Regions from separate parts of the Homo sapiens genome. Here all the other regions are linked to region 1. Evidence: promoter capture Hi-C in 16 types of primary human blood cells and fetal thymus (Javierre and others, 2016). All regions are on one chromosome and are shown on one strand. Each heading gives the region's core, a stretch centred on a gene start or on the middle of the fragment in contact. The rest is flanking DNA. Distances are from core to core; before and after follow the strand shown.

Region 1 (5,705 bases), core at 1,897-4,396:
CCCGCCTCGGCCTCCCAAAGTTCTGGGATTACAGGCGTGAGCCACCAAGCCCGGCCGGCTTTTTTTGTTTGTTTTTTCAGTTAAACTCCTTGACTTAATATTTAAAGCACCAACAAGGACTTTAATTGCAGGTTATAGACAGCAAATTCCTTCTTTTTATTCATTATTTTGTTTGGGGGATGGGTACAAAAGTAAGGTTGTAAAGAAGGAAAACACCAACAAGATAAAATCAATCTGCCTACAATTTGGATTTATTTTGATGGTGTGGAAAATATTATATGACTATTATTTTAGGCGCTACTGGATAAAAAAACCAGGAAATTAATTTCAGTATGTTGGAGAGACAAGGAGATGGGATGGAAAGAAAAATAGCTGGTTCCGAAGTGAAGAGATGTGAAATACAGATGTGAAAAAAAGTTAAATCATTTATGGAAACTTATATTAAGAAAATGCAGGCCGGGTGCGATGGCTCATGCCTGTAATCTCAGCACTTTGGGAAGTCGAAGTGGGTGGATCACCTGAGGTCAGGAGTTCAAGACCAGCCTGACCAACATGGCAAAACCCCCGTCTCTACTAAAAATTTAAAAATTAGCCCGGTGTGGTGGCGCAGGCCTGTAATCCCAGCTACATGGGAGTCTGAGGCAGAAGAATCGCTTCAACCCTGGAGGCGGAGTTTGCAGTGAGCTGAAATCGTGTTATCACACTCCAGCCTGGGCAACAAGAGCGAAACTCAATCTCAAAAAAAAAAAAAAAGGAAAGAAAAAAGAAAAAATGCAAAATAAAAGTACACTGAGACATACTGTATGATTCAATCTATATATGACATTCTGGAAAAGGCAAACTCATTGGTACAGAGAACAGATTAGTGGCTGCCAGGGGCTAGGGGTAGGGAAAAGGGTTGATCACAAAGAGGTCAAACAAGGGTGTTTTTATGATGCTAGAGCTATTCTGTCCTTAATTGTGGTGGTGGTGACACAATTGTATGCATTTGTCAAAACGCATAGAACTGTACACCAAAAAGTGAATTTTACTATGTGTATGTTTTAAAAATAAAAATTTTAAAGTTTAAAAGGGATATCTTACCTATCATATTGGCAAAAATCCAAAAGCTTGACACTACATGCTATTAGCAAGGCTGTGGGGAGTCAGGCACCCTTTATATTAATACGTTGCTGGTGGGAAGGCAAAACGTTACAACATCTATAATTTGGCAATATCTAAAAAAACTACACATATATTTATCCTTTAATCCAGCAATCCCACTTCTAGTAACCTACCTTGGAGAGAGACATCCAGCAATATGAAAATATGTGTGCACAAAGTTATTCATTTCAGCATTATTGAAATTGAAATATTCTTGAAACTACCTAAATATTCCAACATAGGAGATTGACTGAATATACTATAGCACATATACACCACAGATTTTGCAGCTGTAAAAAAGGAATGAGGAAGACTTATGTAAAATGATAATGGATTTTTATGCTACATTTGTATAAAATAGAGAAATAAGAAAACATACAGGTATTTGCCTATTTTTGCAAAAGGAAACACACAAGATAAACCAGAAAGTAATGAAATCGGTTACCTATAGGAATTGGTGGAAATGGAATGCAACAGTTAGGGGAGGGAATGACACTTCTCTAAGTACACTAGTCTGTTTAGTTTTGACTTTTGGAATAATGTTAATATTTTCAATAGTCAAAATGTATAATCAAAGCATTTAGTTTTACACGATGAAAAAGTCTTAGAGATGAATAATGGTGATAGTTGCACAACAATGTGAATGCCATTAATGCCACTGAACTGTATGTATTTTATTTTTTTTGTTTTGGGACAGGTCTCAGGCTAGAGTGCAGTGGTGCGATCTTGGCTCACTGTAACCTCCGCCTCCCCGGTTCAAGCAAGTCTCATGCCTCAGCCTCCCGAGTAGCTGGGATTAGAAGCATGTGCCACCATGCCCAGCTAATTTTTTGTATATTAGTAGAGACGGGGTTTTGCCGTGTTGCCATTTCTTTTCTTTCTTTTTTTTCTTTTCTTTTCTTTTCTTTTTTTTTTTTGAGACGGAGTCTTGCTCTGTCACCAGGCTGGAGTGCAGTGGTGGTATCTTGGCTCACTGCAACCTCCGACTCCCTGGTTCAAGCGATTCTGCCGCCTCAGTCTACAGAGTAGCTGGGATTACAGGCACATGCCACCACGCCCAGCTAATTGTTGGTATTTTTAGTAGAGATGGGGTTTCACCATGTTGGCCAGGATGGTCTCGATCTCCTGACCTCGTGATCCGCCCACCTCGGCCTCCCAAAGTGCTGGGATTACAGGCGTGAGCCACCGCGCCAGGCCTAACAGCTTTCTTTTCTTTCTTTCTTTTTGAGACGTAGTCTCGCTCTGTCGCCCAGGCTGGAGTCCAGTGGCACGTTCTCGGCTCACTGCAACCTCCGCCTCCCGGGTTCAAGTGATTATTCTGCCTCAGCCTCCTGAGTAGCTGGGATGACAGGCGCGCGCCACCACGCCGGCTAATTTTTGTATTTTTAGTAGAGACGGGGTTTCACCATCTTGGCCAGGCTGGTCTCGAACTCCGACCTCGTGATCCGCCCACCTTGGCCTCTCAAAGTGCTGGGATTACAGGCGTGAGCCACCGCGCCCGGCCAATAGCTTTCCAAAGTTATTTTATCACGTATTTATCTACATATTACAGAAGTTTTTACTGTTCTTGCAACTTTTCTCTAAACTTGACGTTATTTGAAAACTAAAAGCTAAGCCAATTAGTATAGTAGTAATAGCAGACAAAAAAAATGAGAGAAGTAAAGGAAGTTTTGGGGGAACAGAAAGAAGAAAGAGCTAGTGTGGAGATACTAAACCGAAGCTTGTGGAACTTGAACGCCATTTTGAAGCTAGTTCCTTAGACGATTCGGTCGAAGATCTGTCTCTCGGCTGCCCTCTATAGAGCTCTAAACCTGGCTTCAAGGAGTTCTTTCATTCTTCATTAGATACCACCCACCATACGTCATTTTATAAAGCCGGAAACTACATTTCCCAAAAGGCCTTTATTTTTCCTCGCGGGAAAAGGGATTGCAATTACTATAGGTTTTACAGGTATCGCGAGATTTCGTCAAATCTCATTACGGATCCCGGCTGAAAGCCATTTTGTTTTTCAGCTCACTTCAAGGGTACCTGAAGCGAATTGGCACCAAAGCAGCAGCTGTATTGCCGCAGTTCTAGCTTCACCTTCACGATGTTTCCCTTGGTCAAAAGCGCACTAAATCGTCTCCAAGGTGAGCAAAAATTATGACAAATCATTTACAACAACCTTATATCAATGTGTCCTCGCGGCCTCTCGTGTGCTTTCCTTTTACGAACATCTCGGCCTTCTAATCTTGAATGCTGTCTGTCTCCCATCTCGTCCCAAGTCATTGGGATGATGTCCTTAGCATTGGCTTTATCACCCAGTATTTCTGTTTCGGTTTCCAGCTCTCTTTCTGTTATCGGAGTGATAGTCTAGCCCTGCTTTTTAATTCTTCAGTAACCTTTGATTTCAGGGAAGGACATTCTTGGTAGACACCTCGTTCCTTAAGTGATGTCCTACATTTTAGCTTTGGGGATATGTTTACTCCTAACCCTGTATAGAAAAATATCTTCTCCAATTCCTATTACTGTAATAGACGGAAACTGTAAATCTAGCTCTTCACCTGGTTTAATTGCAGGGAAACAACCCAAATGGTATCGATGCAGCTTTGAAGTTATTTGTGGATTAACAATGTTAGCTGGCCAGGCGCGGTGGCTCACACTTGTAATCCCAGCACTTTGGGAGGCCAAGGCGGGCGGATCCCCTGAGGTCAGGAGTTCGAGACCAGCCTGGCCAACATAGTGAAACGCCGTCCCTACTAAAAATACAAAAATTAGCCGGGCGTGGTGGTGGGCGCCTGTAATCCCAGCTACTTGGGAGGCTGAGGCAAGAGAATCGCTTGTACCCGGGAGGCGGAGGTTGCAGTGAGCCAAGACTGCTACTGCACTCCAGCCTGGGCAACAAGAGCGGGACTCCGTCTCGAAAACAAAAACAAAACAATGTTAGCTGTCCTGAAGGCAATCGTGGTCATTTTTTTCTTATCCAAAGGTTGGGCAGGTACAGGGAGTTTTGAGACCAGCATTATGTAGAGAAAATGCAATAGATTGAGGAGAACAAATTAATTTTCATACTTGATTTGCACCGAAGGTGACCTTGAGTAACGTGGGCAGTTGTTACACAATGAAGGTGACCCGTAATTACTATTTAGTTTGTTTAGCCATCTTTTGATTTTCACTTAATAGAATCATTGGAGGATATTATTAGATTGTGTCCTAAACTCTTAAGCAACTTTGAAAATAACCACAAAATATTAGCTGGACTATTTTCATATTCCCAAAGTAGCATTTATTATCTCTTTTACTTTGGGCATATGATTTAGCCTCTCTCAACCTCAGTTTCCTTCTTTGTAAAATAAGTAATTTGTAAATAATGCCTACTTCATGGGGTTGTTGAGGATTATATGAGATCACCAATGTGTGGTAATTAAACAGTTGTCACAGAGGAGAGGTCTGATGAAATCCACCAGAGTTACATGAGTGTGTTGAAGTTATGAGATGTTGCAGAATTTTTTGGTAGTCTTAATTTCTTTGCTCTTTGAGCAAATAGGGCCACCTTGTACCTCAGGAAAGGTTTTTTGTTTTTTTTTCAGCGTGGAATTCACATGCCCACTTTTTATCTTTTCTGGAGCAGAATATATTATGAAATATTTGTAAATTTGCCTATCCCGGTGTGACTAAAAGATGAAAAGGGAAAGCTATGTAAGACAGTTAGAAGATCTGATAATGGTCTAATAACTATCATGAAGTAACCCATTGTACCATGTAGAAATATTCATTGCTAGTGAATGGGCAACATTGCAGTTTCTTTTTTTTTTTTTTGAGACAAAGTTTCGCTCTTGTTGCCCAGGCTGGAGTGCAGTGGCTCAATCTTGGTTCACTGCAATCTCCGTCTCCTAGGTTCAAGTGATTCTCCTGCCTCAGGCTCCCTAGCTTTTCATTATATATGTAAGTACCTTTGGAGGCTCTTTAAAACGATAAGAACCTGCCCCTTAAATTGGACAGGAAGAAAAAAAAAAACAGCTAGAAACAAGCTTTTTCCAGTCTCGGCTGTTTCCCAAGCCCTCCTTTTTAGTTCTTCCAGGGGCCGTTTGAAAACTTTTGTTCTTCTCTTTCTACTGGTATAATACTAACAGCAAACTTTATCATTCTGCTCAAAAACTAAGTCCTTAGCTAATTCTGCTTCCTTGTACGATACTGATTTTTATCTACATGTGTAATCCTCTAGACTGGAAGTTACTTGAGGACAGGATCTCTGTCTTATACTTTTTTATATACCCCATTTCTCATTTTTTATTTTTAGGGACAGAGAATTGCTCTGTTACCCAGGCTGGAGTGTAGTGGTGTGATCATAGCTCACTGCATCCTCTAACTCCTGGACTCAAGTGATCGTCCGGCCACAGCCTCCTGAGTAGCTGGGACTACAGGTGTGCATGCACCACCATGCCCGGCTAATTTTTAATTTTCAATTTTTTTGTAGAGACAGGGTCTCACTATGTTTCACAGACTGGTCTGAAACTCCTGGCCTCAAGCGATCCTCCTACCTTGGCCTCCGAAAGTATTGGGATTACAGATGTGAGCCACTG
Region 2 (6,466 bases), core at 636-3,135, 2.7 Mb before region 1:
AAATTTTATCTTAACTTCATCTGCCTTATTGGAGAACTACAGAACAAAAACCATTCCCAAGAGATCATGTGTTAGAAACTTTCAACCATAAAATACTTTAAAAACCTTAATGAAATCATCTAGATTCGCTTCGTTAGCCTAATCTGCTATTTCCTATCTTGAATGACTCACTACAGTCTAAACTACGTGCAGTTCTAGAAAAGGTCCATGTTCTCTCTGACTTGTGGGCCTTTGCACATGCGATTCCTTCTTTAACTGGCTAACTTCTAATTTTTCAGCTCTTGCCTTAGATATCAGTTACTTAAGGCAATCTTCACTACCTTACAATTAGACTTAATACCCCTCACATATACTGTCCCATACCTTGTACCTTTCCCATTATTACACAGCTCCACTATATTTTAATTGCCGATTAATTTACATATTTCCCACTAGATTTTAAGCTCTTTAAAGACAGGACTTATATTTTGTTTGCTCCTGTAGAGGTGTTCAATAATTACTGAATGAATTATAAATGTCATTCCATCAGCCTTCCACATGCTTAGTGTCATTCCCTATTCTCCCTGTTCAGAACATTCTCCCCAGTTCTATCACCAGCATGAAATACTCTTTATAACCTGGTCCTTAATTATCACTATTTCCTCTGGATGCCTATAGCCTTTATTGTACATACTATTCATTTGCTAATTAACCCACCACTGTGTTTTTCAGTTATTTTTGTAATGCATAGATCCAATCTCCTTAACTAAACTGTACAATCCTTGAAGGCATAACTGTATGTCTCTCTTAGTACCCTATCATCTAGCACAGGGCTATGTACAAGGTAGACGTTAAATATTTGTAGATGAAGAATCAAAATTTAAGAGGTTGTTTCTCATACAAAACTGACAATATTTTAAAGTGATAGTGATAAATACGTGGTGGCAATTAAACCTCTTGTCAATACACAGAAAATAAAAAGATATACTTTAGTACAGTTAAGTACAAATAATTTTTTAAAAAACCGTTCCTGAGTGAGAGGTAATAATGGACTCAAATTTTAGGAGGCACTACAACCATAGCTACATTCATAAGTTAAGGATAAGTAGCCTATGGCTTCCAAAATGACCTGTGCACAGAGAACATCACTGTATTTTTCAGATCTAGGACAGTCATATTTATACAAGAATTTAGGGCGGTCTATGTTTTGGAAAGATAGTTACGGTTTTGGCCTATCAAGAAGCACGCCTGTCAGCAAGGGAGTTAACTGGCGCCACCTGTTTATAGATAGCTTGCTGTCATTACAGTGCTCTCCGAATTGCTAATTCCAACTGAGTAAAATCTGAACCACAGATAAACTGTCCCAAATTCCATTACTAATTGGGGAAAATAATCCAGTCTTCCTCGTCTTTAGAAAGGCAAGCAGGCTGGGAATGGTGTCTACCCCAACTCTTAATATGAGAGAAAAACTATGACTCCGAGAGCCTCCAGCGCTCCAGGTGTCCTCTGCCCAGAACCTCCTGCCCCGTTTCCCTTTGCTGAACTCAAAGGTTTTCTTCTTCGCCCTTTCCTCAAATTACTGACGTTAATTTCCTTCACTTACTGCTGCTCCCAGTTAGCCATGACTTTCTTCTTGGTGCTCTCTCTGCCCCGAGGTCAGGAGGGCAACCTTTTCCCTACAGGTCCCCTTGCCCTTCACCCTATTCTTCCATGTCAGTGGCATCTCACCTGGTAGGCTCGAGCGGTTCCCAAGGCGCCGAGTTGATGTGGCCTCCACTGCGGACCTGAGCCGCTAACAGAGACTAAAGGCCGGATCAGAATCGCGGAGTGCCGGCGCTTTTCGAAAGCAGCCGCCGCGGCCGCCCAGCGCCAAGAATGCATCGCGAGCAGCGCCATCTTGAGCGAGGAAAGAGGAACCGAGAGAAGAGGATTATGGGACACTGGCGGACTGAATTCGGCTACCTTAATTGTCTCTCCTCTTCTTGTTTTCCCAGGGCCCCAGACCGGAAATGGATTCTGTTTGAAGATTCGGATGCATTCGCACAGCCTCTTTTATTTGTTTTTCCTTAGGGCCGAGCTTTGATTGTTTTCCTTACACAACCGGGAATATTGGAGTAACACTGTATTTTTCTCTTTTCCTGGAGTTGCCAGATGAAATACAGGATGCCTACCTAGTTAAGTTTCAATTTTACATAAACAACGAATCATCTCTTCGTGCGTGTGTCCCAAATATTGTATCTGCTAAATCTGTCAACCCCATCTTGTCTCTCATAATACTCTCTTACCTCCTCCAACTCAATGTCACGCTCCCCTCTCTCCATTTTCCCTATGCATATTCTTATCTTCACTCCCTTCTGAATTAAGGAAAGATTAAACTACAGACGTTAATTTCCCCTGGGAGGAGGCTTCAGCTGTAAGATTTACTGCTTTTCTGTCCTGTAAGGACTTTAACTTTGCTGATTGTTCTCTGTTGCGCAAACCTTGGGGCAGTTTTCCTTTGGTCTGTTGCTCGTGGGACAGTCTCACACACACACACACACACACACACACAGAGAGACTACAGACATCTTTACTAATTTTGTCACTCTTTCTAGCTCTTCGCTTTGGTTTTTGCAGCGTCCCTAATTCTTGAAAAATCGCTTAGGTTGGCTGAAGGGTGGTAAAGTGAAATGTATGGAGAGAAGACCATGTTTAAAGACAGGCTTATATTCTTTTGTCACCACTATTATCAAACAAAATGTCAAAATATGTTTACAGTTATCTAGGAAACTGCATTTCCAGTTGTAAATGTTACCTGAAACCCCGGAGACAATAATGCAGTTGCAATTTTATATTCACTGCTGCATTCTCCAACTTTTCACACAAAAGAGACAAATAATTATGGACTTCTTATGAAGAGGTACTTTGGACTAGTAAGTCTGATAAAGAAAAACAGAAATCTGTAGCCCATGCAGTTAGCTTTTTTGTTCTGGGATTCATTCAAGGGGATGCTTGAGCTAGTTATTTAAAGAAAAATAGAATTCAAGTTGAAGAGGTTGACTGGAATTACACGTAAAGAAGATGACATGTTAAAAGCAAGAAGGCATAAGAAAATATTTTCAGGTTCAGGAGTCTATGGAGTTTGGGAAAGTAGTAGGAGGTTAACCTGAGTGAACAGAGACCTGATGGTAAAGGGCCTTCTATTTCATTCTAAGAAGTTAATACTTTATCCTATAACCAGTGAAGAGTTTTAATCAGGAGAGTAACATGATCAGATTTATATGTCCATTAAGCTACTCTGGCTTAAGTGAGAAGGTTGGATTGGACGGAGTTCATATTGAAGTCATGAAGTTAATGCAATAGTTCAGTCATAAAATAAAGGCCTCAACCTAGCAGTAGCAGTGGCAGTAGATCGATTGCAGGGCAATTAGGAGATGGAATTGGCAAGACTTAGTGACTAATTGGATGTTTCTAGCTTATTATTGTATTGTTGACAGTAGATCAGTAATGGCTTCATATTAATGACTATATTGTCATCAACAAATATTTATTCAGCATCTATTCTGTGTTAGACAGCTACAGTATACATTAGAGAAACTCTAGACTCTACTAATGATTTCTCTTAGGGCTGAATATTGCCACTGAATCTTACCACCCAGTTGTAAAGTCTTTGAATGGAGCCAAATTATTTTTTTCCAAAAGTAGTGCTCATTGTAAGCCAACTGTTTTGATCAAAAAGTGTGAATAACATTGAAATACCCAAGTTGTTACTCTATGATGAGCTAAAGTGAGGCAAATATTTATTTGCCAAATAAGCCGAAGAAAATTTCCAGGGCACCCAGAAATAGAACGTGAGGCATAATAAGAGTTGCACACTGCTGGGGAAGAGCAGCAACAAAAAGGCCAACTCAGCCTGTAATAACTTGACACATAACTGTCTGACATAAATTAAAGAGACAGAGGTATACACAATAAAAGCTGCTATAAATAGCTGCTACAACCACAGATCACATGATAGCACTTTATGTATGCAATAATTAAATGTGTATAGTATTTTGTAACTTACAATCCGCTTTGTCATACCTTATTTCATTTAGTCCTCACATCGACCATGGAAGATAGGTATTATTTATTAATATGCCCATATTTATGAGGAAACTGAGGCTAAGAAAAGTTGTGACTAGGTCAGAGGCCACAGAGCTAATGGGATGGAGACCAAACCTAGGTTTTATGACTCCAAACATAGTGCTCTTTTCACTTAATAACACCTGAAATGTGGAAGAAACACTTGAGCAATTTAAGAAGGCCACAGTGGTCTTCTGTTTCTAAAAAATACCAGAACTTATTCTCACCTCAGGACCTTTCCACTTGCTTTCCCCTCTACCAGGAATATCTTTCCTGTAGATTTTTAAATGACTTTTTCTTATCTTTCAGGTCTCAAAACAAATGTCACCTGCTTAGAGAAGCTTTCCAAGAGAACCTTATCTGAAGAGGCCACCCCCTGTCCCCACCACTCTGTATCACCATTGCCTTGTGTTATTTCCCTTAAAATCTTGCTATTCCAATGTGATCCATGGACCACTAGCATTGGCATTACTTGAGAGGTTGTTAGAACTGCAGAATCTTTTTTAGCTATTTTGAACTATACAGTAAGTTGTTGTTAACTATAGTCACCTGCCCTACTGTACTATAGAACACTAGATATTACTCCTTCTAACTACATTTTTGTACCCATTGACCAACCTCTTTTCATTGTCCCCTCCCTTCTGCTCTTCTTACCTTCTGATAACCACTATTCTACCCTCTACCTTCATGAGATATACTTTTTTAGCTCCCACATATGAGTGAGAACATGTGGTATTTGTCTTTTTGTACCTGGCTTATTTCACTTAGCATGATGACCTTCAGTTCCATCAATGTTGCTGCAAATGACAGGATTTCATTGTTTTATGGCTGAACAATATTTTATTGTGTATGTACACCACATTTGGAAGAAAGAGAATGTTCCCAACATAAAGAAAAGCTAAATGTTTCTTTATTTGATTATTACCTTGTTGTATATATTGTTTATGATATCATATGCATCATGTATCAAAATATCACATGTACTTCAACAATATGTACAGCTATTACATAGCAATAAAAAAAGAAATGCAGAATCTCAAGCCCGATGCCAGACTTAAATATTCAAAATCCGAATTTTAATTAGAATGCCTCAGGTTGTTCATATGCACATTCAAGTCTGAGAGGCACTTTTAGAGCACGTATCACTTTCTGAAACTAACTTATTTTCCATGTACTTTTAACATTTGGAAATATTGAATCATAACTGAAAATTACAAAGAAAAACGTAATCACCATGTACCTACAACCCAGCTTAGTCATAGCTTAAGATTTTATGATACTTGCCTTAAATTTTTTTTTTTTTTTTTTTTTTTTGAGATGGAGTCTCACTCAGTTGCTCAGGCTGGAGTGCAGTGGCACAATCTCAGCTCACTGCAACTTTCGCCTCCCGGGTTCAAGCGATTCTCCTGCCTCAGCCTCCTGAGTAGCTGGGACTACAGGTGCATGCCACCACGCCCGGCTAATTTTTTGTATTTTTAGTAGAGACGGGGTTTCACCGAGGATTGTCTTGATCTCCTGACCTCGTGATCCACCTGCCTCGGCCTCCCAAAGTGCTGGGATTACAGGCGTGAACCTCTATGCCCAGCCTGCCTTAGATCTTAAAAATAATGACTTAGTTGAAGATCCCGGCATTGCCCTTCTCTAATCCTAGTCTCTTTATCCTTGTGGATTTATTTCTGTTTTATTCTTTTATGTTATTTTGGTGGAGTCTGTAAGGAAGAGGCGATAAATAGGTTTGATTTTCCTCTTCGTTTTCTAACCTCTAGACATTTCCTTTGTTTGCTTTCAAGCTCAACTATGCATTTTTTAAAAACTTTGGGGCTTTTTGTTGCTACTTTTAACCAACTTGTCTGTGTTTGGAGTCTGTAGGGTAGTGTCTCTTACATGTTGTCAGTTAGCCCTCTTGTCTCTATTGTATACCTCTTAACCTGGTTTACACTTTAAAAAATGCAGCCCAAAATTACCCTTCCCCCAAAATAAGGTGCATTGCATAAAGATGTTTATATCAGTGTTATTAATAATAGCAACTTTTTCTGTCGTTTTACTTTATTTGTTTATTTATTTTTTAGAGACAGAGTCTCGCTCTTGTCACTCAGGCTGGAGTGCAGTGTTGCAATCACAGCTTACTGCAGCCTCAAGCTCCTGGACAAGGGATCCTCCCGCTTCAGCCTCCCAAGTAGCTGGGACTAAGGTGTGTACGACAGTGCCTGACATATATTTAAAAAATTTTTTAAAGATGGGGTTCGCTATGTTGCCCAGGCTGGTCTCAAACTCCAAGCATCAAGTGATCCTCTTGCCTCAGCTTCCCCAATGGCTGGGATTTACAGGCATGAGCCACCATGACCAGTGCAACTTTTGAAAATAATTCCAAATATTCCAAAAG
Region 3 (6,317 bases), core at 3,780-6,279, 2.9 Mb after region 1:
TTTCCCTAGGGTCACTCAACAAGTAAAGGCTATATTCCATACTAAATATTAGGGTCTTTTCTACTACTCACAAAATCCCATGTAAGAAATGTCAAGCAGGCCAGGTGCGGTGGCTCACGCCTGTAATCTCAGCACTTTGGGAGGCCGAGGCAGGCAGATCACGAGGTCAGGAGATCGAGACCATCCTGGCTAACACGGAGAAACCCCGTCTCTGCTAAAAATACAAAAAATTAGCCGGGCGTAGCGGGCGCCTGTAGTCCCAGCTACTCAGGAGGCTGAGGCAGGAGAATGGCGTGAACCCGGGAGGCGGAGCTTGCAGTGAGCCGAGATTGCGCCACTGCCTTCCAGCCTGGGCGACAGCGCAAGACTCCATCTCAAAAAAAAAAAAAAAAAAAAAAAAGAAATGTCAAGCAAGGGCATCTCTAAATTATGACACAAACACTAAACTACCTTTTTAGAATACCATTTTGCTGCCTACCAAAAGGAAAGTGTTTATTAATCAATCAGTAATCAACATCAGTAGTAAAACAAAAACTAAAACACAGGAACTAAAACTAATATTCAAATGTGACAAAGATGCTCAGGACAAAATTTCATTAAGGCAAGTTCACTGAATCCAAAGTATTAGTCCCTAACACCAGCTCTCTTCACTTTCACAGTATCTCATTTGTACTGAGATACCAGTTATCCTAAGATTAATGATAAATCTCCAAAAGGATTTTAAATCATTGAAAGTACGTTCCTTAGAGCCCATCTGTGGAAAAAAAAATGCCAAGGATCAATCTAGACAAATCGCTAAAGCCAATATATTTCAGAGAGCGCGTGGTGGCTCAAGCAAGTCAGTAGTCAGGAGTAGTCAGGAATACCGATTTCCAGATATTGACCTCTCTCTGTCATAATACCTATCAGTTAGCATTATATGCACAATACACTGCACTGGGGTTGAGCAGAGCATGCTTTTTGATATCCCATGATGCATCCTGTTCTTCCTAACTATGGCTATGTCCACATGGCAGTTAATAAATCAAACATGCTTAAACTGCTTCCACACTTAGAGATGCAATAACTATGCTACCAGCACTCAAAGATCATTCTGCTATTCTAATTGACAATTTAAGCTATTATTAGTAATTGGAGAACAACAGCTGGTTAAGAAAAGAATACAGGTATGTCTGGAATTTAAATACAGTGTTTTAAAGTACTTGGTGAGGATCAAATGAGATAATGTGAAAACACTTTTAAACTTGAATGTGTTATATGCAGATGCAACTTCTTATAACAACATATAATCATAGATGTATGTATATTTTTTAAGGACAATAACAAACAATCTTTATAAAAGTTTTTCATAAAAAACATAAAATTACTTCTAGTATTTTGCATATAAAATGAGGGTAATACAATCTATGTCATTCCAAATGTAAGCGCTAACTGGTGCTTTCAGTTTTAGAGATGAAAATGCGAAATAAATGTAAAACTATATACCACACCTAAACACATTTATAACTTTGGTTCAGTCTTTTTTTTTTTTTTTGAGACAGAGTCTCAGTCACCCAGGCTGAAGTGCAGTGGTGCGATTCCAGCTCACTGCAACCTCTGCTTCCAGGGCTCAAGCAATTCTCATGCCTCAGCCTCCTGAGTAGCTGGAATTACAGGCATGAGCTACCACACCCGGCTAATGTTTGTATTTTTAGTAGAAAAGGGCTTTTGCCATGTTGGCCAGGCTGGTCTTGAACTCCTGACCTCAAGTGATCCGCCTGCCTCAGTCTCTCAAAGTGCTGGGATTACAGGCATGAGCCACCACACCAGGCCCTGGTTCAGTCTTATGATACGAGACTCCTAAAAATGATTTAAAAATCTTAAAATGTGGTTTTTAAAAAGTTTCCAAATCACCATTTCAATATATAAAACTTATAGATTAACAAGAACTGTTCATTTAAACACACACAACCTTGATTACTCTGTTGTCCCCAGTAAAGCTCCAAGGAGGAAGCAATAAATTAGCCAACAACTCAATAGGGTCACCACAAATGAAAGGACATCTGTATTATTTAAATTATCTACCTTAAGATGAATTGCAAGAAGCAAATCTTATTCTATTATGTGGTCAGTAACAGCCAACTAGGAAGCAGAAAATAAAGTGCCCAGATGAAAATTCAGAAACAATCACAACTTCAAAATTTTCCCTCTATCATTACTTAAAATTCTGGAAAATTTAGAGTGTTATATTTTAAATGCCATATTCAAAAATCTTACAGTTCAACATAAACTGACCAAAATGCTTCATCATGTACAGATTCTTTTTTAAATGACATTTCAGATCAGGATACGTCAATACTTAACTGCAAGCAGCTTTAATAAAAAAGCACCTTCCCTTGTGTTCAAAATTACAAGTAAAACACTAAACACTAAATCAGATGACCGTTTCAGAAAACAGAAGGCAAGGATTTCTAGAATATGTAATTTAGTATAAACACTGAATCAGATGATTGTTTCAGAAAACAGAAGGTAAGGATTTCATTACTACTACTAACAGTAGTAATGAAATGTTGAAGAAATTCAATTTATCATTACCTTAATATTATTCTGATAAATTAAGCATTAATGACAATCAGTTCAAATGAAAGTATACATATGAACAAAAAGGCAGGATTTTTGTCTCATATATGCAGTATACGTGGCCATGCAACCCCTATTTACTATGTTGATATCCTAGTTAACACTTCATTGTACATTTGTACTCTTTCCTTTTCATACCCCAATACACCTTAAGTTTGTAATGCTGCTATATAATGTAATATTCCAGGTAAATCAAGATGATACTATTAATACTTTGCCCTAAATTTCAATCCAAAACATGCAGCTAAATCAAAGACCACACTTTATAAATCTATCATTCCAATAACAATTTAAAAAATACCTACCCCAGGCCGGGCGCGGTGGCTCATGCCTGTAATCCCAGCACTTTGGGAGGCTGAGGTTTACGAATCACGAGGTCAAGAAATCGAGACCATCCTGGCCAACATGGCGAAACCCCGTCTCTACTAAAAAATACAAAAATTAGCTGGGCGTGGTGGCGCGTGCCTGTAGTCCCAGCTACTTGGGAGGCTGAAGCAGGAGAATCGCTTGAACCTGGGAGGCGGAGGTTGCAGTGAGCCGAGATCCCGCCACTGCACTCCAGCCTGGCAATAGAGCGAGACTCCCTCTCAAAAAAAAGAAAAAAACAAAAACACCTACCCCAAGAAAAAGTATCCCATCTCTTCTACAATGCAGCCACTCAAAATCAGGTCATATGTGAAATAATTTTAATCAAAAATATTACTGACAAACTTAGCAATCAAACCAACACTGCACATTCACTTCTCAGCCACTACACTTCTGTTCAAATTATCACTCAACCCTGCCCATCTTCTCTTACAAAGAAGTCCATAGGTAGAGAACAGACATGTAAAAGAAAACCATGGTATCTAAACTATAATGTTCAAACAACAGAACAAACTCTGTGTACGTAAAAAAAATAGAAAATATAAAAACAGAAAAGAATATTTAAAAGATACGTTAAAATTGAGTATATGTAAGAATTAACAATTTTATTTAATTCCTTAAAGGTTAAGCCTCACTAGTAATGAAAAAAAAAGAGCTACTTAAGTCAACCAGGAGCTATTGCCATCTATTAAATATTAAAGAAACTGAATGATTTAAAGCTATTAAAAAACTCACTCTAAATACCTAGATGATGACATTATAAATTAGTACAATCTTCTGGAGAGCAAACAATATATGACAAGAGCTATAAAACTCATGAGACCCTTTGACCTGGTAACTCCACTTTAGGGAATAAAGTCCAGGAAAATAACTGGGGGCAGAAGGGATAGGGGAGAAAGTAAAAAGCAGAAAAAGACCACCTAACTATGCAAAGTTATTAGTAAAAATCTGGAAGTAGCTCAAATGCTCAACTGGAAGCTTGGTTCAAATCATATCGTACCTTAAATACAACTGAATTTTTTCTTACCATTAAAATAATGATGACTATTCAAATACACAAGTACATTTTTAAATGTTAAGAAAAATATGAAGCATAAAATGGACACTGATCACAATTATGTAAAAATGTCTTTACAATATGAGGAAAAGTCTAGTAAACTGGGTTGTTGGGGTTTTTTTGGTGAGGAGACTATTTTTTAATTACTTTGATTTTCATTTCCTTTTTATCACTGTCAAGTTAGTTTCAAAAAAGCTTTTTCCTTTTAATCTCCTTTGCCACTTGCTTAAAATAACACATATAGGCTGTGAGAAGGACAAATGTAAAGGAAAACATTTTCAATACACCTCAGTATTAAAACTATATATAAAAACCTGTATCAGTCATTAAGTGTTAAAACATATTAGTAGGCACTGTTGTTTTTGCCTCTTTTAGGGGGAGGGAAAGACTTAAGTCCAACAGAAAGACTGACTACAAATTAACCTGGCAGTACATGAAGTTTTTCAAAACTAATTTTTCTCCATCTGAGAAATTGTTACTATTAATAATACAGATGGTCGAGTTTACCCTTATCACAATTATACCATTTTCTGTGATTTGCAAAATATAAGAAAACTATACAGTCGGTAGACTTGATAATAATAATGTGGCCTCACTGTTGTAAGATAACACAAACAAAAATAACAAAATGAACATTGAAGCAATTTAAATATAGTCTTATTGCAAGCAAATTTTAAATCATTTATATTTAGAGTCTATCATACACCGCCAACTTTCTTTAACTTTGTCCGATTTTCCTCCACTTGGATCTTACTTGAAGGAAAGATAGCTGAATTTAGATTTTAGTAACATCATTCCTTTCTCCTTTCACTACCCTCCAATGCACTGTGGCAGCAGCTAACACAAGGGAACCTCCCCCGCAAAATAAAAAGGATCACCTGTTTTTGTGTGTCAATGCTGAACACAAGGTACATTTATACTATGAATTATATTTGCAGGAGAAACAACATAGACCAATGCCTTTGGTCCTTCACTAAAGTATATTCCATTTTTAAATATGTCCATTGTTGTCTCCTTGTAAACCCAAAATCGTGTTTCACCAATTCTCAAAAAGTGATAACTCAGTTTCTATTTAGTGAAAACGGGTCTATGCAAATGCGACTTAACTGATAATTGAATGAGCTTATAAAATCGGAGATACGTAACGATTATGCTTTTACTCAGTAGACCATTACCTAACCGGCAAAATTTGAAATTGGCTTGACGCTCCTTATTATTTTTAATTATGTCGTTTTTCCTAATCCCTGGTCCGTCAATTCCCCTCCAGAGCCCCTTCCTCCCACGCCTCCCCCCTGCCCCCCCGCCCCCCCCAAAAAAGACCAAGCCTGGCCTTAGTTCCCGTATTTCAGGCCAGGACCAACCAGAAACCAGTTTTCTTCCACTAATCCGGAACTCCGGGCTGTTACCAACGCTGTCATTGGCCAGCGTCAGACCTTAGTACGTGCCCCAAGATAACCCCTTGGTTTCTCTCCCTTTTCCGCCTACAATGGGCCTTCCCCAATGTTTGTAACATATTCATAATCCACAACACGGCACCTCTGATAATCAACTCACATTCTTCAAAGTTTTCGGGTGGAAACAAGCAGGGCCAAGGGGAGGGCAAGGTACCCTTTTTCCGACTAGCAGGGATGGGGGAAGGGGCAGTCGTTCTTTGGCTCTGCACCGAGCTCTAGAACCTCGTCGGCTGAGAGGTGGGGGGCGGGTTGGGGGTACAAGGTGGGGAGGGAGTGGTGAAAGAGTTAGGTTAAGTTGAAATGAAAACTTTACTCACCAGATCCTCGAAGCTTCTTCGGTGCTCTTTCCCCTCCCAATCTAAGCGGCGCGGAATCAGCTGGGGGCCGGACGAAAAGAAAGGGGGAAGCGGAGGCAAATGATGAAGGAAAAGCCTCCGCTCCCCATCAACTGGACCCAACCTGTGTCCCAGTCCTCAACACTTTACCGTCTTTATTTCTCTCGGCCTGATAGCTATTGGCTCAGAGCTAGACAAGTATATGGGGGGGGGGGGGAAGGGGGGTCGAGAAGGAAATCCTGAAAAACTGCCTCCCACAAGCATAAAGCGGGGACGAGTTAAGACCCCAGCGTTGTCTGCCCCTTTTGAGGGAAGAAGCCAATTCACCCCGGTGACAACAGCTACGGGTACCCAGATCGAAGCCTCTATCCCAGCCCGTCTTCCGCCCCTGACTTGCCCTCCCCTTCCTCCAGTCTCACCTCAACCCTCCCCACCCTTCCCGAAGGGGCTCCGTACCTGATGCTCCTCGAGCTCCTGCACTAGCAC
Region 4 (6,300 bases), core at 2,875-5,374, 2.6 Mb before region 1:
AAAAGGCAACCTACAGAATGGGAGAAAATTTTTGCAATCTACCCATCTGACAAAGGGCTAATATCCAGAATCTATAAAAACGTAAATAAATTTACAAGAAAAAAACAAACAGCCCCATCAAAAAGTGGGTGAAGGATATGAACAGACACTTCTCCAAAGAAAACATTTATGCAGCCAACGAACATATGAAAAAAAGCTCATCATCACTGGTCATTAGAGAAATTCAAATTGAAACCACAATAACATACCATCGCACGCCAATTAGAATGGTGATCATTAAAAAGTCAGGAAACAACGGATGCTGGAGAGGATGTGGAGAAATAGCAACGCTTTTACACTGTTGGTCGGAGTGTAAATTAGTTCAACCATTGTGGAAGATAGTGTGGGGATTCCTTAAGGATCTAGAACCAGAAATACCATTTGACCCAGCAATTCCATTACTGGGTATATACCCAAAGGATTATAAATCATTCTACTATAAAGACACAGGCACACATGTGTTTATTGTATCACTATTCACAATAGCAAAGACTTGGAACCAACCCAAGTGCCCATCAATTTTAGACTGGATAAAGAAAATGTGGCACATAGATACCATGGATTACCATGCAGCTATAAAAACAGGATGAGTTCATGTCTTTTGCAGGGACATGGATGAAGCTGGGAACCATCATTCTCAGCAAACTAACACAAGAACAGAAAACCAAACACCTCATATTCTCACTCATAAGTGTGAGTTGAACAATGAGAACACATAGATACACGGAGGGGAACATCACATGCTGTGGTCTTTCAGGGTTGGGATGCTAGGGGAGGGATAGCATTAGGAAAACTACGTAATGTAGGCGATGGGTTGATGGGTGCAGAAAACCTCCATGGCACATGTATACCTATGTAACAAATCTGGACGTTTTGCACAAATACCCCAGAACTTAAAGTATAATAAGGAAAAAATAAACACTTTATGTGAAAAAAAAATCCTTAGGAATATATCTAAACAAGAAGGTGAAAGACCTCTACAAGGAAAATTCAAAACACTTCTGAAAGTAATCATAGACGACACAAACAAATGGAAACATAACCCATGTCATGGACGAGTAGAATCAATATTGTGAACAGGATCATAATGCCAAAAGCAATCTACACATTCAATGCAATTCTCATCAAAATACTAATATCATTCTTCACAGAATTAGAAAAAACAATTCTAAAATTCATATTGAAGCAAAATAGCCCATATAGCCAAAAAGAATAAATCTGGAGGCATCATATTACCTGGTTTCAAACTATGCTATAAGGCAATAGTTACGAATACAGCATGGTACTGGTATTAAAATATACCCACAGACCAATGGAACAAAACACAAAATCAGAAATAAATCCAAATACAGCCAACTGATCTTCGACAAAGCAAACAAAAATATAAAGTGGGGAGAGGACACCCTTTTCAACTAATGGTGCTGGAATAATTGGCTAACCACATGTAGGAGAATGAAACTGGATCCTCATCTCTCACCTCATACAAAAATCAACTCAAGATGGATTAAGGACTGAAATCTAAGACCTGAAACTATAAAAATTCTAGAAGATAACTTTGGAAAAACCCTTATAGACATTGGCTTAGCCAAAGATTTCATGACCAGGAACACAAAAGCAAATGCAATAAAAACAAAGATAAATAGCTGGGACTTAATTAAACTAAAGAGCTTTTGCACAGCAAAAGGAACAGTCAGCAGAGTAAACAGACAACCCATACAGTGGGAGAAAATCTTCACAATCTATACATCTGACAAAGGACTAATATCCAGGATGTACGAGGAACTCAAATCAGAAAGACAAAAACAAACAATCCCATCAAAAAGTGGGCTAAGGACATGAATAGACAATTCTCAAAAGAAGATATACAAATGGCCAAGAAATGTATTAAAAAATGCTCAACATCACTAATTATCAGAGAGATGCAAATTAAAACCACAATTTAATACCACCTTACTCTTGCAAGAATGGCCATAATCAAAGAAATTAAAAAATAGTAGATGTTGGCATGGATGTGGCAAACAGGGAACACTGCTACACTGCTGGTAGGAATGTCAACTAATGGAAACAGTGTGGAGATTCCTTAAAGAACTAAAAGTAGAACTACCATTTCATCCAGCAATCCCATTACTGGGTATCTACCCAGAGGAAAAGAAGTCATTATACAGAAAAGATAGTTGCACACGCATGTTTATAGCAGCATAATTCGCAATTGCAAAAACGTGGAACCAACCCAAATGTCCATCAATCAATGAGTGGATAAAGAAGCTGTGAGATATATATATATATACACATATATATGTGTATATATATGTGTATATATACATATATATGTATATATATATATACACATATATATATGTGTATATATATATATGTATATATATATGGAATACTACTCAGCCATAAAAAGGAATGAATTAATGGCTTTTGCAGCGACCTGGATGAGATTGGAGACTAATATTCTAAGTGAAGTAACTCAGGAATGGAAAACCAAACATTGTATGTTCTCACTCATAAGTGGGAGCTTAGCTATGATGGATACAAAGGCATATGAATGATACAATGAACTTTGGGGTCTTGGAGGAAAAGGGTGGGAAGGGCTTGAGAGATAAAAGACTACAAATAGGGTACAGTGTATACTGCTCGAGTGATGGATGCACCAAAATCTCTCAAATCACCACTAAAGAACTTACTCATCTAACCAAACAGCACCTGTTCCCCAATAACCTATGGAAATAAAAAAAAAATTATAAAAAAATCTGTATAGGCATGTTAAAAAAAGGAAGGACAGAAATACCATTCAACTCAGCAATCCCATTACTGGGTATATACCCAAAGGAACATAAATTATTGTTTTATTAAAGACACATGCACACATATGTTAACTCCAGCACTATTTACAATAACAAAGACATGGAATCAACCTAACTACCCATTAATGATAGAATGGATAAAGAAAATGTGGTACATATACACCATGGAATACTATGCAACCATAAAAAATAATGAGATCATGTCCTTTGCAGGGACATGGATGGAGCTGGAGCCTATTATCCTTAGCAAACTAACACAAGAACAGAAAACCAAATGCTGCATGTTCTCACTTATAAGTGGGAGCTAAATGATGAGAACACATGGACACATAGTGGGGAACAACACACACTGGAGCCTACTGCAGAGTGCATGGTGTGAGAAGGGAGAGGATCAGGAAAGACAACTAGTGGGTACTAGGCTTAATACCTGGGCGATGAAATAATCTTTACAACAAGCCCCCATGACAGAAGTTAACCTATGTAACAAACCTGCACATATATCCCTGAACTTAAAAGTTAAAAAAAAAAAAAGATTCTTGTATCCCATCTCGGATCTACAGAATCACAATCTCAAAAATGAGCCGTAAGAACCTGCATTTTAACAAGCTCTACAATTATTGTGGTACATACTGATGTTTGAAAAGTACTGCCCTAGACACTCTTACCTCAGGCCGTTATAGTGAGTCCATACACTTAAAAATAAGCGTCTTTCCAAGTACTTTAAAGATTCAAAATGATAGTGGATCTGAAATGCCGCCTGAGTCCCCATGACAACGTGTACACTGTGGGGCCCAACCAATAAAGATAAGAAAAGCTTTGGCGGTCAAGCATACTTGGGAAGCTGCAGTTTCTAGAACAGTCTAGTAGAGGACAGCCTCTTCAGCAGCCTGCTAGGCATTTTTTTACTTCTTCCTTCTGTTATGCAGACAAGCTAACTGAAGATGCGGTTACTGAGATATAATTTCTCTGCTAGGTCACAAAGTCTGAAAACATGGGCCTTACGTGTGTAACTGTGTATCATCACCTGCCACCCCCAGTTTTTCCTGGCTCTACTAATCACCCAAAGTTCTGAATGCAGAAGCCCCAGGGGCCCCCGGAAGATCCTTCAAGCTGGCATCCTTGGCCTCGCTGCGGGGGCTTAGCTACCTGTGGGAACCCACGTAGCAAGGGTGACTCAAAGGGTTAACAAGCAGTGGCGCCGCAGAGTGGCGGGGAGTGCAGCCAATAGGGTGTCTAGGCAGGCAGTACGTCTGGTGTGGGCGGGAGTGAGCCAAAGTGTGCTAAAGGAAACCAACAGCGGCCTAGGGGTGAAAGGACAGCCAGGGTTAGATGTTCTGAGGAGGCGGGAGCAACCGAGAGAGCACGTGAGCATCTGTCCTTTCTACCCGTTCCTCTTTATCTTTAGTGTTCAGTAGCAGCGGGGATAGCCCGGGGCCCGGTGTATGGCCACGGAGTTACAGTGTCCGGACTCCATGCCCTGTCACAACCAGCAAGTAAACTCTGCCTCAACCCCAAGTCCCGAGCAGCTGCGACCTGGCGATCTGATCCTGGACCACGCAGGGGGAAACAGAGCCTCCAGGGCCAAGGTGATTCTCCTCACGGGGTACGCCCATTCTAGCCTGCCGGCCGAGCTGGACTCTGGGGCCTGCGGCGGCTCCAGCCTCAACTCAGAGGGCAACAGTGGTAGTGGTGACAGTAGCAGCTATGACGCACCAGCTGGCAACTCCTTCCTAGAGGACTGCGAACTCTCCCGGCAGATCGGGGCGCAGCTTAAGCTGCTGCCTATGAATGATCAGATACGGGAGCTACAGACCATCATCCGTGACAAGTAAGCCAAGAGCGGAAGGGGAAAGGGAAGTGGAGGGTCTTGCAGGCTGTGGGCGGGGATTGGAAGTAAAAGGGCTAAGAGACAGTGTTCTTGGCCTTGGCAAACTTTGGAGATTGGGGTAAGACCTTTTATTTGGTGTGTGTGTGTGTGTGTGTGTGTGTGTGTGTGTGTGTGTGTCGTGTAACTCGAACGCCAACCTTCTCTTTCCAAGTTCCGGTGTCTAACATCACTTTGGGTGGGGAGGAAGACTTTAGGTAGCCTCTGGGCTCTTTGTCTCTCCCAGGAAAGACAACTCCTTGGCCATTCCAGGCAGGTAAACTCCCCTATACTATGTGGGCAGTGCTTGTCCACATGGTAAACCTATAACCCAGAAATGGTTACTATCCAAGGTTATGCACTACCACCAATCACCTCAGGTTCATAAATAGAAATAAAGCAATTTCAAGGAAATTCTATTCAGGCCCTGACCCTTTAGTATTTGCTACTGCAAACAAGGTCTTTTAGTCTTGGAGTTCAGGTTTACTTGATCACATGAAAGCTTATCGTCCAACTCTTATCATTTTTCACTGTAAACTCACAGAACATAGTTAATGGATCAAAGGGAGCCTAAAGGAGCCTTTGGCCCTTCCTAATCCCACAAACCAATGTAGCCAGAACTTCATGTTAAAATGTAATTTTGAAATTTCTAAACCTACGTTGTAAATGGGTTTTCTCCAGGGAAATATGTACCATGATGAACTACAGCTATTTTCTTTATTGGCAGCACTTTAAATGAGCAGCATATCAAAACACCCCTTTTTTAGTGGCAGGGGTTGGGGGGACATGCCTTGATCTTTTAAAAATGGCTACTGAATGACAGATGCCACTCCCTAAACCAGACTCTAGAAACCTTGTCTTACACTATTGTAATAATACTGTTTCTCTGCTTGCAGTTTTTCCTCTCTTCCACATGCACCCATACATTACTGTACAATCAATCTTCATAACATACATCTTTGATTCAGTAATTGCCCTACTCAGCAACCTTCTTTGGCTTCTCAGAGCCTACCAAATAAAGTCCAGGATCCTTAGCTTGATTGATATTTTTGAGACAGGATCTTTCTCTGTCACCCAGGCTGGAGTGCAGTGGTGAGATCACAGCTTACTGTACCCTCATACTTCTGGGCTCAAGTAATCCTCCTGCCTTAGCCTCCTGAGTAGCTGGGACTACAGGGACATGGCACTGCCCCCCGGCTAATTTTTTATTTTTTTGTAGAGATGGAGGTCTTGCTATATTGTCCACGATGGTCTTGAACTCCTGGCCTCAAGCAATCCTCGTGCCTCGGCCTCCTAAAATGTTGGGATTACAGGTGTGAGCCACCATGCCTGGCCCCCTTAGCTTGGGATGAAGGCCCTTCTTCATAGTTCCTAGGAACAATTCTGAAACATATCTGTTTCTGCTCTCATCTGGAATTCCCTGTGTCTCCTTTATGTACGTTCAGGATACTTATTCTTCAGGGTGAAACACAGCATTAAATAATTGTCCACCTCTGCCAAGAAGCTTCCCTTTAATCATTATTCCTGGCTTATCTTCCCTGGTCTTTTTAATGCAAGATTCACCTTCTTTTTCGTATATTGTTA

The links. The method cuts DNA at HindIII sites, captures the fragments that hold promoters and counts their contacts. A CHiCAGO score of 5 or more calls a contact.
Region 2: a contact is called between the fragment with the promoter of ABCB7 here and the fragment with the promoter of COX7B in region 1, in 1 of 17 cell types (fetal thymus). The highest score is 5.9, in fetal thymus.
Region 3: a contact is called between a fragment that was not itself captured here and the fragment with the promoter of COX7B in region 1, in 1 of 17 cell types (fetal thymus). The highest score is 6.4, in fetal thymus.
Region 4: the fragment with the promoter of UPRT here is called in contact with the fragment with the promoter of COX7B in region 1 in 3 of 17 cell types (fetal thymus, non-activated CD4 T cells and total CD4 T cells); the score reaches 12.0 in fetal thymus.

The regions. Positions count from the first base shown.
Region 1 is chrX:77,896,322-77,902,026 of GRCh38, forward strand. COX7B (cytochrome c oxidase subunit 7B) reads left to right here and starts at 3,147. Exons shown (of 3, transcript NM_001866.3): 1 at 3,147-3,272. The coding sequence starts at 3,233. RefSeq lists an enhancer at 3,101-3,350. The HindIII fragment of the contact is 2,290 bases long and covers 2,862-5,151 here.
Region 2 is chrX:75,154,398-75,160,863 of GRCh38, forward strand. ABCB7 (ATP binding cassette subfamily B member 7) reads right to left here and starts at 1,886. Exons shown (of 16, transcript NM_001271696.3): 1 at 1,708-1,886. The coding sequence starts at 1,875. It also overlaps a transcript of UPRT not described here. RefSeq lists an enhancer at 1,567-1,996. The HindIII fragment of the contact is 6,846 bases long and covers 1-4,422 here.
Region 3 is chrX:80,802,726-80,809,042 of GRCh38, forward strand. BRWD3 (bromodomain and WD repeat domain containing 3) reads right to left here. Exons shown (of 41, transcript NM_153252.5): 3 at 6,288-6,317; 4 at 5,814-5,873. It overlaps LOC124905202 (a long non-coding RNA gene), which reads left to right and starts at 6,083. Exons shown (of 2, transcript XR_007068278.1): 1 at 6,083-6,317. The HindIII fragment of the contact is 1,589 bases long and covers 4,236-5,824 here.
Region 4 is chrX:75,269,961-75,276,260 of GRCh38, forward strand. UPRT (uracil phosphoribosyltransferase homolog) reads left to right here and starts at 4,125. Exons shown (of 7, transcript NM_145052.4): 1 at 4,125-4,680. The coding sequence starts at 4,295. It overlaps LOC124905200 (a long non-coding RNA gene), which reads right to left and starts at 4,076. Exons shown (of 4, transcript XR_007068269.1): 1 at 3,518-4,076. RefSeq lists enhancers at 4,016-4,065, 4,086-4,135, 4,296-4,505. The HindIII fragment of the contact is 1,552 bases long and covers 3,665-5,216 here.